Linked DNA regions of Homo sapiens: regions 2, 3 and 4 are each linked to region 1. The links are contacts of gene promoters, found by promoter capture Hi-C in blood cells and fetal thymus (Javierre and others, 2016). All regions are on one chromosome and are shown on one strand. The core of a region is centred on a gene start or on the middle of the fragment in contact, and the rest is flanking DNA. Distances in the headings are between cores, read along the strand shown.

Region 1 (4,268 bases), core at 493-2,992:
AGTCTTCGTCCCCTGTCATTCTCACCCTCTCCTACTACACTTGAGTCTCAGCAGTTCCCTAATTTGTCTCTCACTTCTTTACCTGTGAACATACTGTTTGTATGCCAAGAACAATTTCCCCCTTTGGCAAACTATTAGTAATGCAAACATCCAAAATTTACTCAGACAATCTTTACTTTGGAACATCTTTGCACTAACAAACACAAACCCAAAACTGGGTTAAATGACCAGGTGGTATAGTTCCCAGTTAAGTTTCTTATAACGCTGTATTATAATTTTACCTACTAAGCTATTCCTTCCTTAAGAGTAAATACCGTATTTTTAAATTTCTGTATTGCTGGTACAGTGTGTATTTTGTAAAGACTCATGTATGTTGAATTAATTCATCAGAAGCAAGTATAGCTTAGGAACTTGGCCATGAAGTCAATTTGATGTGCTTTCAAATTCTAACCTGTCACACAGCATATCTGCTAAGACTCCAGCAGACTTAATTTATTCATCTGTAAAATGGGAGAAAACCGCACATACCTCATAGCTTGGGAAGAAACAAAGGATTTAGCACACTTTGGCACACTTAAAAGTACACTTTAAACATTAGCTACTTATTTTTTTCACTCTCGGTTTATCCATTTATCCACGGTGACAAAGCCACACGTCAGAAAGTAGCTTCTCCTAATAGCCTTCATCAGAGATTGAGGAGATCGAGACCATCCTGGCTAACACGGTGAAACCCTGTCTCTACTAAAAATACAAAAAAAAAAAAAAAGATTTCTCCAAAAACATCGAAAGTCAAGATCTCTTACAAACATCCCTCATCGGTTAGACTCTTGTCTTTTAGCTTCTGGTTACACAGAGCTCAGTAGCTATACCACCACACCTTAAACCACTAGCTAGTGTTTGCAGTTTATGGCTTCTTACCATTCATCGGTTTCCTCCCTCAAAGTCAATACATCTTGATCCTAAGCAAGTGGAACTTACCCCACAGAAACCAGTCAGCACCTTTTTCCAGGGCACCACCAGTTTCCCCCACAGCAGGCTTTCGCGAATGAGAGAGATTCCTATGATCTATCATCTAGTACAAATTTATATCTCCTCGGAGAAAAATAGAACCTCTGCTACCCATTCCAAGACCTCAGCACCAAAAGTATTAATTCAAGATAAAAAATGAATTCCTGGCACTAAAAGCTCAGGAAAAAGGAATCCTTTAAACCCTTCTCCAACGAGAGTTCTTCAAGCCTGTTACCCTCACATAGTGACCAAAATCCACCATCCCATCCCGCCCCCTTCCTGACAGAATCCAGGGTCTAGTCCACTCTCTCGAAAGAGAGGTGGGTCCCTACTTTCAGGGACCGGGATGCCTTCCGCCCACCCGTGTCACTTCCCTTCCCACCTCGCCTGTGCCCTCCTGCAGCACAGGCCCGGCCTGGTCCCTCGACGCTAACTCCTTCCACATACCGCTACTCACCGCTTCTTTGGGATGGTGCCCGACTCCTGCGCGGCGGGAGTGGCCGTGGGCGCTGCCGTGGCCGCCGACGCGGCTCTCCGCGCTTTGCACTCATTGGTACTCAGAGCCTCCCGGGGCCGGCCCAGCAGATGGCCAGAGAGAACCCGCAGCCTCCGCCCGGCGCGGTCCGGGTCCGGGTCCCGGTCCCGGTCCGCTGCAGACCCGTAGCTCGCGCCCGCGCCCAAGCCAGTCCCACCCGCTGCAGCCGCCGCCTCCGCCATGGCTACCGCCTTGTGCTGCCGCCCGGAACCGCTGGGCGCGGGTGAAAGGTCACTCAGAGCGGCGCCCGGCGCGACCATTCGCTGCGGCGCATCCCGGCAGCCACCGCGGCGACTTGGCGGCGGGTGCCATGCGTCTGGAGCTTCACATTCTCTGCCCCCCACCCACCGCGCCGGCGCTCCCTTGTCACGCCTCGGGAAGCGCGCACCTGCCAAGCAGGTGAGTTCGAGCTGACTCCCGGTTGGCCCAGCCCGGTCCAGCTGGACCGAGAGCCAAACCACGTCCGCCCTCGAGGTGTCCTAGAACCCTGGGTGGTGTCCTCGGGTGTGGCCTGGGGGCTTTCGAGGGCAGATGCCTTGGAGCAGGAGAAATGGGCAGTGCTACTGGACCTGATGGATCCAGCGGCATCCTTTTCCTGAAAGAGATTCTAATGTTCCACCTGTGCTCTTCCTCCCTGCGGGGTCACCAAAGTAACTCAAAGCTGACCATCATTGCCTCTAACCATTAGAGCAAATAGCTCTATCATTTTCTTATTTCTCACCACCTATTTCGTGCCTGGCACTGTGTTTAATGCTAGATCACAAGTAAGTACAGAAACTGAGTTGCAACTTAAGTTCTCATTTCATTCATTACTGGATCCTAACCCCTTCCTAACTTTAATAGAGATAAAGTTTCTTATTGCTACAGACAAAAATTACCCAAGAGCTGTGAAGACATCTCAGTTATTTACAGATTGAATTCATTTCTGGAAGATAGCACGTGAAAAGTGCTCCTCACCTGTTTCAGCCGGTGTCTTGCATAAGAATTAGCTTAGACAAAAACTCACATACACTGGCCATTGTCATTCTCCATCCTGTCACCACTTTCACATCATGCTTTCCTAACAAGAAAAATATTGGCAGAGGAATCTGAAGAACACCACATCCATGGGACTAGAGACTAACAATTGCTCTCTTGGGTGTTGCCAGCTTCTAAAATTGAGATTATGCCTTTAGAGTGAACTTCCAAAGAGGCCCAGACTGGTTAAAAACTCTCAATTAAGGGCTAAGCAAATTGCTGTTGGAGGGCCAGCTCTAGTCTGTGGCCTGTTTTTACACAGCCCTCATGCTAATGGTTTTTGTATTTGAGAAGGGTTGTTAAAAGAAAACAAGAAATTTTTTAAAAGAATATGCAACAGAGACCTTATGTGGTCCCAGAAGCCCCAAAATATGTATTACCTGGCCTTTACAGGAGGTCCGAATGTCTTCTGAAATTTATATACGAAGAGATACCAAACCATTGAAAACAGTCCAAATGTCTAGCAACAGAGAAATGGTTAGTCAATATGTTAAAATACTTTTGCAGCTATTAAAATAATTTAGTACAGTTGTAGAAACAAGAAAGAATTAGGAATTTGTTAAATATAAAAAATGGCCATAACCTAGGCATCTTATACGTATCTATTTAATCAATCTTTGCAGTAACACAATGACACAGTTTTATTATCCTTATTTTATAGATGAAGGCTCAAGGAGAGTAAGAAGCTTTTCTTAAATAGCTATATTTTATCTCAAATATCATATACTTCATGTTATTGTCCTTATTCCACCATTAGAGTTTGGGGCCATTAACATTTTACGTTAAAATTACTTACGTAGGCTTGGGGTTTTTGTTTTTTATTTTATAGATTCTAAAATTGAACTTTCTAAAATAAATTTTCACTTTAATTATAAACTATACTCCTGGTTCTTAAGGATTGAGTTCTGGGAAGAATTTCAGAGATTGCCACCACAGCTATCACGACCTCATTCATGAGGTGCAAGAACATGAAACACATATAGCACTTTCCTAGGTATTTATGACTGAAAAAAGAGAATCTTTAGTTGATCTTGTAAAATTAAATATCAAAGCCTGCAAGCCACTAGTTTCTGGCTTTTGCATACTTTGTTGCCTACCCTCACAACAAAGAAGTTGCACCTGATTGACATTTTCAGTATTCAACTGATGACCAGAAAAGTGGCTATATGCTCCTACATGTTTGATAACAGAAGAAAAATCCTAGCTTCCTTTCCTTTACTTGATTTTGTTGTCAATTAGAGGAATTGTCTCTTATTTTAAAATTTTAAAACCCACTTTGCCTTCCAGTGTCATGTACATAATTCTAATGGTGTTCTTTTTGTCTTGCACAATCTGAAGAAAGTCACACTCATCTCCTCTGACCTGATAAAGCAGTCTCCAAAACAGATAGATGGAGGTGGCTCAATCCAATAATTAATGAGCCAAGAATTATTCCTGTATACTATCCCCTCAGTTCATCTAGGCATTACCTCCATTTCCTCATGTTTTACTTCCTCCTGTATCTTTAGAATCCAATCTCAGATGTCACTGATGAAGTTGTTGCAGAGAAATATGATAACAGCTGTCTAGACCTATCAGTTATTGAATTGAGATGTCCTGTAGCCTTTGATACAGTAGGTCATTTTTTGTTTTTGCAAGAATGTAATCCCGTGATTCTCCATGTGCTTCCTTGAATGGGGTAGAAACTGAGCTCATTTTCCCCTCCCTT
Region 2 (4,031 bases), core at 1,488-3,987, 340 kb before region 1:
CTCTAGAGGCCGATGTTTCCAGACAGCTTCATTTCCTGCTGGTGAACAAGTTCTCTCATTATCTTCCTTCTTTTTCTGCCTAGTCACTGAAACAGTCATTGAATTGTTGTCTCATGCCTGTGTGCTATCAAGCACCATGGAATATGGAAGAAGGAATAGTGGTTGTGCCCTCCCTCTCTCTGGTGAGGCTGCAGCAGGGAGGGTCAGTGAGGACTCAAGAAAGACCCACAATGCAGCAGGTTGAGGTTGATGTAGGCAGGAAGCCATTAAGATTCAACCGAGCATGTGAGTTAAGAAGCAGTATACAGAGAGCATAGTAGGTCTGAGCAGAACCAAGACAAAAGGCAGCAATCTCTGAGCCAGAAAGATCATGCTGGACTGGCAGCATCATCTTTGGGGAATTCGTATCTTACGTCTCTAAACCTTAATGTGTAATGTAGTCAACACAAGCTTAACTGCCTCTTGTCTCCCCCAAGAGCACTTCCTTCCTTCCATCACTTTCCTGCTACTAAGACATAGAAAGAAGGACACTACAGGAAATTCATGACAAACTCACAGAGCCACCATGCTGCACTCACACATCCACCCTGCAAGGACCTACCTTCTTCTTGGAGGGATGAAGCAGGCTAACCTCAGAGTCACCCAGCTGGTGAGCTCAGATTGGAACTTGAAGATTGGGGTCACAGGGTTAGGGACTCCTCTATGTGTCTTCTACTAAAAACTGCCCCACTGATGTATAAAAAATGGAGCACCGGATTCACACAAACTTAGAAGGCAACTTGACTCACCTATATTACCTGATCTTGGATTTCCATGTGCACGTGTATCTAAGTGTGAGGTAATCACCAGGGTGGTTGGCAAAAAGTTCACACAACTCAAATTCACCAGGGGATATTGTGGCATGGTTTGGGAAAAACTAGTAAGATGACTTCCAGCAGGATTATCAAGCCTTCACTCATTCATCTGATAAATATTTAATGAGTTTCTCCCATGTGCCAGTTACTGCCTACAGTGGTGAAGACTGCAATGAGCATTTAGGACACAACAGTAAACAAGACAGACGTAATTCCTATCCTTGTCCATCAGACTTTCAACAATAATTACACAACATATTAATGATGGACATCGTTAACCACTGCCTTGGCTCTCAGGAAGTTTTAAGCTGCTTCATTTCAGCTTCCCAACCTAGTTCAGGTGTAGAAGCCTTCTCCACCTTCCACTCCCACCCTCCCAGCATTCCTGTAGGTTGTAGGTATCCAGAACCCTGCCCCTCTCTCTTGGCTTTTTTTTTTTGAGACAGAGTCGCCCAGGCTGGAGTGCAGTGGCGTGATCTCAGCTCACTGCAAGCTCCGCCTCCCAGGCTAATGCCATTCTCCTGCCTGAGCCTCCCAAGTAGCTGGGACTACAGGCACCCACCACCACGCCTGGCTAATTTGTGTGTGTGTGTGTGTATGTGTGTGTGTATTTTTAGTAGAGACGGGGTTTCACTGTGTTAGCCAGGATGGTCTCGATCTCCTGACCTCGTGATCTGTCCACTTCAGCCTCCCAAAGTGCTGAGATTACAGGTGTGAGCCACCGCACCCAGCCAATAATGTGATTTATTTTATTTTATTTTATTTATTTATTTATTTTTATTTTATTTTGAGGCAGAGTTTCACTCTTGTTGCCTGGGCTGGAGTGCAATGGCGTGATCTTGGCTCACCGCAACCTCTGCCTTCCGGGTTAAAGCGATTCTCCTGCCTCAGTCTCCAGAGTACCTGGGATTACAGGCATGTGCCATCATGCCCAGCTAATTTTTGTATTTTTAGTAGAGACAGGGTTTCTCCATTTTGTCAGGCTGGTCTCGAACTCCCGACCTCAAGTGATCCACCCACCTCGGCCTCCCAAAGTGCTGGGATTACAGGTGTGAGCCACCGCACCCAGCCTCTTTCTTGGCTTTATTAGTGTCTTTAGGTATTGTGTGTTTGGTGACTAAGCAAGGGTGCATTACCCAAACAGGTGTCATTTCCATTGGGTGGTCAGTGGTTGAGGTGCTGGATGCTAATGAGCTAAAGTCCTTACCGCTCTTCCATGGGAGGAAGAGCTGGTGAACTCTTGAGTGCAAATAATGAGAGGTTTCAACTTAAACATGGGACAGTCCATGGATTCTGATTCAACTGTCACTTAGCTTATGGGAGCTCCAACATGGGAGTCCTTTGCCTCCATGGGGGTCCTTTGCTAGGTGCATCCACTTTCTAGGTAAATGCACAAGGATCAGCAGCCATGCTCCCAGGGGCTGTCTCCTTCCCTCTCTTTCCTCATTCCTGTATCTCTGTGAAAGGGGGAAATTCTTCTTCCTCCTCCCTTTCTTTTTTTTTCTTTTTTTTTTCTTTTAGATGGAGTCTCACTCTGTCACCCCTGCTGGAGTGCAGTGCTCGCTGCAACCTCCACCTCCTGGGTTTAAGCAATTCTCCTGCCTCAGCCTCCTAAGTAGCTGGGATTACAGGTGCCCACCACCACACCCAGCTAATTTTTGTATTAATTTTTGTATTTTTAATAGAGACGGAGTTTCACCATGTTGTCCAGGCTGGTCTCGAACTCCTGACCTCTGTTGATCCACCTGCCTCGGCCTCCCAAAGTGCTGGGATTACAGGCATGAGCCACTACGCCTGGCCCTTCCTCTGTTACTTATCTCCCCCGGGAGCACGTCCTTCCTTCCTTCTGGTTCTAGAGTACTCTCTCTTTTTCCCTGGTTCTTTCAAAATAGATAGACCCATTAGACCCAGAACCCCACTCAACCGAAAACAAATTCCTTTTCCCTGGAGGACACAAAGGGTTGCTTGGTCTTCAAATATTCCCAGGAGAGGAAAGAAAGGGTTCGCTGTTGAGTGCAGCAAAGAAAGGGAAAAGGAAACACTGACAATTGCTTTCCCATACGAAAACGGCCCAAACATTTGCCACCTGCCACAACTAAAATTGGGACCAGAGCTTCAAAGGGGAAGTTCTGGGAGGTTTGGCCATAGAGAATGGAGACTGGTCACTACCAGGGGTCAAGGGAGCCAACCTGGCATGGACAGCGAACAGAAGTCAGTCCTGGAGTCACAGGCAAACCAGGCGCCTGCACTGTGGTCCAAGGCCACTGGAGCTTGGCAAAGCGGATGCCCTTTACTTGGATGAACTCAAGTTTTACAGTTGTTTAGGCAGCCAAGGGGTCCAAGCCTATTAGAGGAAGTCTTGGATCTCTGTGAACAAGCACTGTTTTTTTGTTAACAATGGGGCCCTGTCTGTGCCTCCTGGTATTGCACCATCTTCAGGGGAGATTGGAACTCTACTCTGTAGTGCTGTTCTCCGCCATGTTTCCTTATTCTCCTGGTGAACTTGTATTCACCCTCCAATGCCCACATTAGATGATCCTCCTCCATTGTGCTTCTTTGCATCTCATACGCTCATTCCTGTTGTTGCCTCTGAACTTTATGCTTCTGGTTTTTTGGGGTTTTTTTTTTCCACGAATCATTGTTTTTTCTTTCTTCTTGGGTAGGCCATGAGCATCTCAGGAATGGAGTCCACGGCTTTTCTTAGGTTTTGATACATTCTCTATGACCTTTAAACATTTTTTTATCATAGTAACTATTTTTAACTGTTTAAATTACTAAATATACTTTATAAAGCTGAGGTTTAATGACAGTTTGGAATTAAGGCAGGAACGTGAAGCCGAATGTATTTCACTAAACTCTCCCGGGGGTTCCTGTGGTGCCCCGTGTTTCCCCCATCGCAGCTCTTAACCCATACTGTTCTGTAATTGCCCGTTTGCTTCTCTGTATCCTCTGACAGGCTGCGAGCACAGGGACCACACTAATTTTACAAACATAACTACAGCATATGCCAGTGCCTGGCGTACAGTTAGATGCACAATACATATGTACTGAATTAAAATGGATTAAACTGGGCGGTCTCCTGGGGCAGAGGACAGAGCTTGACTCTTCAGAGTCTAGTTACCAAAATCTTCTCCACTCACCCTATCCTTCTATGGGGCTGCTATCAGTATAAAAATC
Region 3 (3,914 bases), core at 89-2,588, 320 kb before region 1:
AAAATTAACTTAGAAAAACTAACAGCCAACTGCAGATTTTAAAATGAAGGGCATATACAAGCTTTTTTGTTTGTTTGTTTGTTTGTTTGAGATGGAGTCTTGCTCTGTCGCTCAGACTGGAGTGCAGTGGTGCCATACAGGCTCACTGCAACCTCTGTCTCCCGGTTCAAGCGATTCTCCTGCCTCAGCCTCACGAATAGCTGGGATTACAGGCGCGTGCCACCAAGCGAGGCTAATTTTTGTATTTTCAGTAAAGATGGGGTTTTGCCATGTTCATCAGGCTGGTCTCGAATTCCTGACCTCAGTTGATCTACCCACCTCGGCCTCCCAAAGTGCTGGGATTACAATTTTGAGCCACCGTGCCTGGCCGGCATATGCAAGCTTTGACATGGACTATTTCATACTCCCAATTTATTAACATTCCCATTTGCTATACAAATGAAGTTATATGTATTTCTAAATGTAGCAGTGGACCCAAGTCTATTTATTAAAATAAAATTGTCAGCCAGGCGTGGAGGCTCACACCTATAATCCCAGCATTTTGAGAGGCCGAGATGGGTGGATCACCTGATGTCAGGAGTTCGAGCCCAGCCTCACTAATATGGTGAAACCCCATCTCTACTAAAAATGCAAAAATTAGCTGGGCGTGGTGGTGGGTGCCTGTAATCCCAGCTACTGGGGAAGCTGAGGCAGGAGAATCACTTGAACCCAGGAGGCAGAGGTTGCAGTAAGCCGAGATGGTGCCATTGCACTCCAGCCTGGGTGATAGAACAAGACTGTCTCCTAAAAAAAAAATAAAATTGTCAACACAGAAACCTGTTATTCAGTTATTTCTGCAACACAAACATAACCAATTTAAAAACAAAATTTTCATTTTACTAAGAGAAGTGTCTTACAGGTGTGGGCCAGTGATCCTAGATTTGGTGGAAAAAAACACATGAAAAGTGAAGCAATTTGTACCCTAATCCTCCCCCTCCTCCCACTCTCTGATAAAGATTTTAATAAGTAATGAAATGGGAGACTTACAAAGTAAAAGAGGGGGAGATATAAAGGCCTTCGATCAAGAAAATGCATAGACCTGCATTCCCAGAGGTCCACTTCCTCTTCTAAACTAATGAAAGGGCCAGCAGCAACCCAAGAAGCATTGCTGCTGTTGATTACATAATTATGTCAACCTGCTTCTAAAAGAAATCACATCACAGCTGTGCATTTCACCAGCAAGCTACCACAAGATAAGAAAAAAGAATTCCCAGTAATGGATACCCCACTCAATCCTCAGTCTGGGTTGACAATCCTCTGACAAATTCTGGTGTCCATGACATGCACTGCCTTATTATCTGTATGAATTTCATCTGTCTACCAACCTAATATGAATTAGGGTATTTACAAGATAACCTCTAGGATGTCATTGTATAACAATTTGAGTATGTTAAAGTGTCTCCTTTTAATGTTAAAAAAAAAAAAAAAAAGAAGGGTTGTGTTCTCCTTCTGCCTGCTCTCATTTGGGTGGGATCTGGCAGGTGTAGTGTTCACTTTGCAATTCACTGCCCCTTCCTATTCCCCAACCTCCAACCTCCAAACCCTATGCTCATCATTAAAATGTATAATAACAAAACACATTTTGCCCTGGGCCTTTGCTAAACTGTCACTGTCTCTGGATAGTCCAACCTTCTCTCTAAAAAGGGAACAAAATAGTCTGAACTATGTCCCAGTGTGGCAGCGTGGGCTGCTGTGACAGCAAGCTAATTCATCACTGTGGGGACCTTAGGCTGTGCAACTGACCACCCAACTTACTGTTGTCTGAGGGAGTGGCAGTTAATCATCTCCTTAAATGATGTGGGTATGAAAACAGAGTTGACTGTTGCTCAGCACCTAACCTTATCCATCCTCCGTACCCCAGTAGTGACTGTTGCCATTTTCCCCTTCTTCCCAGACTGCTGGGTTTCAAGACATTCTGACCGAGGTGGAAATTTTAGCGGTGATTGTGGGATGCCTGTGTCATGACCTCGACCACAGGGGAACCAACAATGCCTTCCAAGCTAAGTAAGTGTTCTAAACTGTTGTTATTTTAATGCATTTGCCTTTCTGTTCAGAGCCAAAGGTGACGAATGCTAAAGAGTAAAGCATTAATTTCTGGCATCCGAGGCCAAGGCCATGCAGGCTTGGGCGTGCATGTCATGGGGCCCATCCATCTTTATAATTCCCTATTCTTCTTTTAATTGCAGATTTGCCCTTCATGTCATGCTTGTTGATTTGGTCGGTCTCTGTTGACCTTACTCAGATAACAAAGCTTGGATTTTAAAGGGTCTACTTTTTTCCTCCCAGAATATTTGCCTTTATGGCGTTATAAGCTTCTTGGACTTGCTACTCTCAAACTCTGGTGTGAGACTGTTAAAATAAAAGCAGTCTTAGGAAATTTGATGAAGCAAAATATAGTTTTCCTTCTCCAACAGAGTCTCTTCCAGGATTCTTTTGATGTTGGGTATTATATAAACTATAGTAAAATAAAGCCACGTTCAAGGAATATAGTTTTTGCTCCTCCCATTCCCTACTCCCATAGAAAGGTGGAAGAAACAAAGGAATTACAGAAATACAGGGATGTCTGGGCAACTATTTGCCACACACATGATGTGTATAGATAGAATAATCTGTCCCTAAGCAGGTTTTCCTGGTCAAGATAGCTGTTGCTTTGTGGCTCATACTGTGGCCAAGGCCACAGAACTTATGGGTGCTAGAAATAAGACCAAAACCCAGGTCTCCTGACTTGTATATTGAGAGTCTGCCGTTAATGTTTCTTTCACTGTCTGCCTGCAAACAAAAGACAGAGGCTTTCAGAGGCTGGAGAGAAAAGTTTTGGGGTAGGGAAAGTAGAGAAGGCCTCAACGAAGAGGTAAGATTAACTTCAGATGACTGATTTCACAGCCTCTAGAACAAGTCAGCCTCTATTATCTGAAACTTTCACAGTCTGCTCTTTGTCAACAGGTTCTTTTCAGCTCATCATTCTCTTTTTTCCTCCAAACATCTACCCACTAAGACTTCAGGAGTCTTGGACTCTTGTATTTACTCCTGATCTAGCAGATGAATTTCAATTTTGTGCCCTCTGTCCAATCTGTATCCTATAGCCCATCACTTCAGTGCTCTCTTCTCAATATCCTATCATTTCCTGACCAAGTCTCTGTGACATCCACTCTGCAGAAACTCAGTCCTGGTTCAGTCTAACAATTCAGTCTCTTGCTACTCTGCCTAGACTTATAAAAGCTTTAGGAGAAAATGTCACAGTTGTGAGAGTTAGAGACATACCAAATATATATTCCTCCCACTTGGCTGGACGCTAGAACTCGCTGCCAGTCTTTCTGTGTCCCTAGCCAGCCCCATTCCCCATTGCTCTTAGCAGTTTCATATACCAAACTTGTGTCTTCCAAAACCACCTCCTGCTCCCCCGCCTCCCCCGCACCACTCAGCAGATCACCTTGCCTCCTACTTCACGGAGAAAATTGAGGCCATCAATCGAGAATTCTCTCAATTTCCTCCCCTGCCACCTACAAACTTATCTGTCCATCCCCATCCTTCCCTCCTTCCCTCCTATCTCGGTAAGAGGGCTGTCCTTCCCTCGTCCGAGGCTAATCCCTCCACCTCTGCCTTGGACCCTTCCTTGCTTCTCCTCTGGGACTTTGTGCCATCAATCTTCCTCTCCCTCCTGTATCTGCTGTCCCTTTCTGCTGGCTGTCTGCATCCTATTAATAGAAACAGCTCCCCCGCATCTTGAAAAAAGCCTACCCTAATCCCCACTTCACTCTCCAGCTTCAGTTCTATTTCCTTCTTTCCTTCCCAGTCAAGCTTCATGGAAAGCTGTCTGGGTTCACTTCCTTCCCTTCTCCCAACCCCTGTCCTCCCACATGGCTTCCGGTTCCAAT
Region 4 (4,172 bases), core at 310-2,809, 360 kb before region 1:
TGCTAAGAATGTTTTGGTTTGTTTATGTGTTCGTTTGTTTGTTTTAAGGTTACATAGTTTGAAAAGTAATCCAGCCCCATTGCTTGAGCAGGTATGATTCCTTAGCCTTCAACATTCTAGAATATCAACTTCAAGGGACATGTTTGTGGGCGCTAACAGCACTTATTTTCTCCAAAGGGCAAATTTCAAACAATTCCTGTGCTGAGTGATCCCATTCCTCTTGCTACTAGGTTCATTTTCCTAACACATACTATAATTCACCTCTGGCCTTCCTGGAGATGGAGACGAGTTCTGTGAAAACCAAGCTTTGTGATTTCTGTGGGAACAGGTGGCCGTCCTCAACACTTGGGCTTAAGTTTGTCAAACAACTCCGTAAACCACTGAAGCTGGCTTTTGAGGAAAACCACTTTTTACTCTTCCCCTCACCACCAACAGAAAAGATTTAGAATTCAGAAATGAACGAGAAGAGAGTGAGAGGCTTTCTGTGATGACATTTCTCCAATATGAATTTAAAGGGAATTTCTTTCCCTTTAAAACCATGAAGAAATTTATGCTTCTGCCTGAAATATCTTTTAAACCATCAGTGGTCTTCTTGAAAACAGCTTTACTCCGGTTCTCTGAGGAGTTGTGTGTGAGGGCAAAAGCTGGTTATTTTGATAACCCCTGAAAGACCAGGGGCCCACTATTCTAGTGTTAGCAGTGGCCCTGTCTGACCTGGGGTGCAAACAAGCTTCTCTCCCAACAGGAACTCTTTCTCTTATTGTGTGGTAAATTCATTAGTGGGAAGGCAGGGTTGAAATGGCCCCAAGGTCCCAGATGTAAAATCTCCTTCCTCTATATAGTATGTAAAAGCCCAAAGTCTTCCCAGGAAGTGTTACAAATGAGAGCGTAGTGCACACCAAAAGGAAACCCTGCCCCACAGAATGGGCTCCTGCAAAACCATCTGCTACCCTCAGAGCCACTTGGTGATTCCTGGGGCTGGCTGCTGTGACTCTCCACTAAGCACCCAGGTGGCCCCTTGGGCCAAATATGAAAAGCCTCACATTGCACATGGAGCCCTTGGGTACTCACTGCAGACTGGCTTGCTCTACAAAGGGGTAAAAGTGGCCTCTGGCAGAGCCTGGGTTTCTCATCTTTCAGCAACCCCTTCTAGAAGGGAACTATGGAGTCCCAAGTTCCAGTTTGGAAAATATCAGGGACATTTTCTGATTGGTCCGCTTGGCCCACTTGGTTCCCCTGTCCATCCCTGGACCAGTCAACTGTGATGAGGAGTGTGTGCTTAGGAAAGTGTGTCAGTTGGAAAAATCAAATCCAGGTGGAAACATGGGGTCGCAGCAGAAGGAGGGCCAGTTCTAGAAAGGAAAGAGGTACCTGGTGGATGGTATCATAGCTGTCCTTCACAGTACATGCAGGTAACTTTTGCATGACCCCATGCCCTCTTTTATGGCAGGCAGGCATTTCCTGGGATACAGGCAAGATGCTCACAAGAGCCTCTTCGTAATGTCTAGAAACTGGGTGACACCCACAAGTGATCGCTCTGTCTGCTGAAGTGGTTCCACAAGTGATGTTGGCTATATAGCATTATTGAAAAGAATGTTCTACTATGTCCTTAAAGCATTTCTATTTCCACAACTAAGTAGAATCAGGGGTGACCCCACTGATGCTCACCCTGATTTGGCTCTCAAACTTACCCAAATATTATAAGGCAAATAAATATAACTTCCAGGGACATGCCAATTAAATTGGTCCAGGAACTCCTCACTAATGACTAGCCCATCAGGTCATCTCAGATCAGCCTCTTTCTCTTGTGTTTGAACACTGTAGTCTCTGATATATAGAAAAGCCCCCTGCAACTGGATCAACCAATAACCCACAGATTTCTTCTAGTCATTTCTTCATGAATTTATTGGGACCTGCTGGAGAATTAAGGAGATCAGACAGGCCAAACATCCCTAGATCTGATATTTGAAACTCATAGTAAAATAGCTCAATTCCTAATCTACTTCCTGGCCTCATTAGAATTCAATTAGTAGAAGGACATTCCTTCCTAGAGGCTCGTTGGCAGATTTGTGTGTGAACAGTTAACCCGGTGTTAGCAAAAGCAGTTACTTGTATCCAAACAGCTCTCTCCAGCTGCAAAGCTGAACCCCAAGGCTGTTTAGACAGGACTGTGCTTATCCTCCCACCAGGATGCAAATATTTTAAGTGGACAGAGTGAGATAAAATGCAGCCAATGCTGCCCCTGACACTGACCGCATACTGTGCCTGCTGGATTTTTGGACTTGAAGGTCAGGGGAGGAAGGTGAAGGAAGGGACGCTGGAGACAAGGAAGCAAAGAAAATCTTCCATGACTTTGTTGAAAATTATTTTCCAAATAAACAAGCTTGGGCTTTAAAATGTATGAACACAAATTCTACCAAAGTATGTGGAAATACCCATATATTTCTTGAACAGGAAGAACTGCTCATCAGACCATAAAAAGCAGGAGATCTGAGGGTAGGACAACCTTGAGTTTTTTTGTTTTTTGTTTTTTGTTTTTGCATTTTTTTTGTCTGCAGTATTTTCTGCAATGTTCTTCAGATGCCTGAATGTAGACTCAGGGAGATTTATTTTTCTTCTGACAGGGTATGTTATAGTTGTCACTCAGCCTTGAAATAGTCTTTCCCTCCAGTGGACCATCAGGCCAGTAATATATTTGCGTAGCTCTTCCCAACTGTCACTCCTCTGCCAGCCTTCATGCGTCAGCATTGCACAGTATGCCTAGCCAGCCAATGGCAGGCTTTGAAGCTGCTGCCTTTAAGGAACTTGTTTTCAAAATATTCGCAGTCACCCAGCAACAGGAAAAGGCATTTCATTGGCTCTCTCACTGTCAGCTGGAAAGGAGGATGATCCAGATGGGCCTCAGCTGTGAAGATCAAGATTAGACATGGGGGGCGGGGCAGATATTTGGACACAGAAGCCTCTCAGTGGCAAATGTGGTATTTTATAAGTATCAGATGAAGCAATGCTTTCATCCATAAAAATCAAATGTAAAAAATGTGACACCACACCAGGGCAGGTAGTTTTCATCTGCAGTGTCATAGGATGCATACAAGATAGATGTTGGCCCCCCCAATCTTATCTGCCTGATAAAGGGAAGTGCTGCTGAGGGATGGGGAGGGCCTCCGTGGAAAGTGAATTAGGGCTTTTGGTGTGGAAGCAAGCCTCTCTCTGCTAGGACTAACATGCCATATAGGGTGGGTATTCTAAATGCAAAGCAAGTCCCCAAAGTTACTCTATCACTAACTGATCCTGTGAATTATCTTGCCCTTAAAAAGTTCGTCATTCTGCTTGACTCTTCAGGCTGATTTTTCTTCCTCAGAAAAAAGCAAAGGAGAGAACGAAGGAACTAGTCAGGGTTGCCTGGGCCTTGAATAACAGGCTGCAGTGCCACCTGTCTACTCTAATTTCTCCTTCATGTGGACCTGGGCTATTCATAGGGAAAAATAAGGTTTTCCTCTTTCTGGTTTTACTCTTTTGTTGTTACTATAACACAGAAAATTAATATTGATGGAATGTATATGTGAATCAAAGCAACTAGGGAATGCTCTGAAAAGAACATGTCATAAAACAGACAAGAAAAAATAAATGATTAAATTACTGACATTCGGTCCTAGCTGAGGATCTGCCCTCTCAGCACTTCAGGCTACATGTTGGAAAGGCATTCACTTTCAATGACAACAAACAGTTAAACTCCAAATGCTTCAATGCCAGGAATCCATACATTAGTTGTCATTAGTTGTGGACTTGAGCCTAATTCAGGGCAAACAGTTTGATTTGTAAGAGCTCACTGAATATACGTTCTTCACTGCCATTCACCTGGGCATCTGCTCTTTCCCAGTTCAGAGCAGCAAAATGGAGGGAAGGTGCTTTTTGCTTTTCCAGAGAGCTAGACAGATTGGAAATTAACTATAACTAACAGTTATGATAATCAACAATGGGCAAACATATTAACTTAGATTGAATACTATTACATGCATGTTAATTCTGCAGACTCGCATTAACAAATTAGTGAGTGAATATCATTCCTGTGAACCTCTAATGGGTATAAATAATGATACAGTCAGATTTGCCTTAGTTAGACTCTAAGCTACTTGAAAATTGCTATTATCTCCGGTGACTAACAAAATGCC

What was found. The method cuts DNA at HindIII sites, captures the fragments that hold promoters and counts their contacts. A CHiCAGO score of 5 or more calls a contact.
Region 2: a contact is called between a fragment that was not itself captured here and the fragment with the promoter of AGPS in region 1, in 1 of 17 cell types (megakaryocytes). The highest score is 5.4, in megakaryocytes.
Region 3: a fragment that was not itself captured here is called in contact with the fragment with the promoter of AGPS in region 1 in 1 of 17 cell types (M2 macrophages); the score reaches 8.6 in M2 macrophages.
Region 4: a fragment that was not itself captured here is called in contact with the fragment with the promoter of AGPS in region 1 in 1 of 17 cell types (fetal thymus); the score reaches 7.9 in fetal thymus.

Annotation. Positions count from the first base shown.
Region 1 is chr2:177,390,247-177,394,514 of GRCh38, reverse strand. It overlaps AGPS (alkylglycerone phosphate synthase), which reads right to left and starts at 1,742. Exons shown (of 20, transcript NM_003659.4): 1 at 1,466-1,742. The coding sequence starts at 1,725. It overlaps LOC100130691 (Putative uncharacterized protein FLJ44553), which reads left to right and starts at 1,824. Exons shown (of 9, transcript NR_026966.1): 1 at 1,824-1,942. RefSeq lists silencers at 20-314, 1,523-1,742. The HindIII fragment of the contact is 4,249 bases long and covers 1-3,248 here.
Region 2 is chr2:177,734,853-177,738,883 of GRCh38, reverse strand. All of the region lies in intron 10 of PDE11A (phosphodiesterase 11A), which reads left to right. Among named protein-coding and RNA genes, the nearest start is that of PDE11A-AS1, 64 kb to the right of the region's middle. The HindIII fragment of the contact is 4,569 bases long and covers 453-4,031 here.
Region 3 is chr2:177,709,898-177,713,811 of GRCh38, reverse strand. PDE11A (phosphodiesterase 11A) reads left to right here. Exons shown (of 20, transcript NM_016953.4): 13 at 1,934-2,043. All of the region lies in intron 4 of PDE11A-AS1 (PDE11A antisense RNA 1), which reads right to left. Among named protein-coding and RNA genes, the nearest start is that of PDE11A-AS1, 39 kb to the right of the region's middle. The HindIII fragment of the contact is 1,909 bases long and covers 384-2,292 here.
Region 4 is chr2:177,752,718-177,756,889 of GRCh38, reverse strand. All of the region lies in intron 10 of PDE11A (phosphodiesterase 11A), which reads left to right. Among named protein-coding and RNA genes, the nearest start is that of PDE11A-AS1, 81 kb to the right of the region's middle. The HindIII fragment of the contact is 1,653 bases long and covers 733-2,385 here.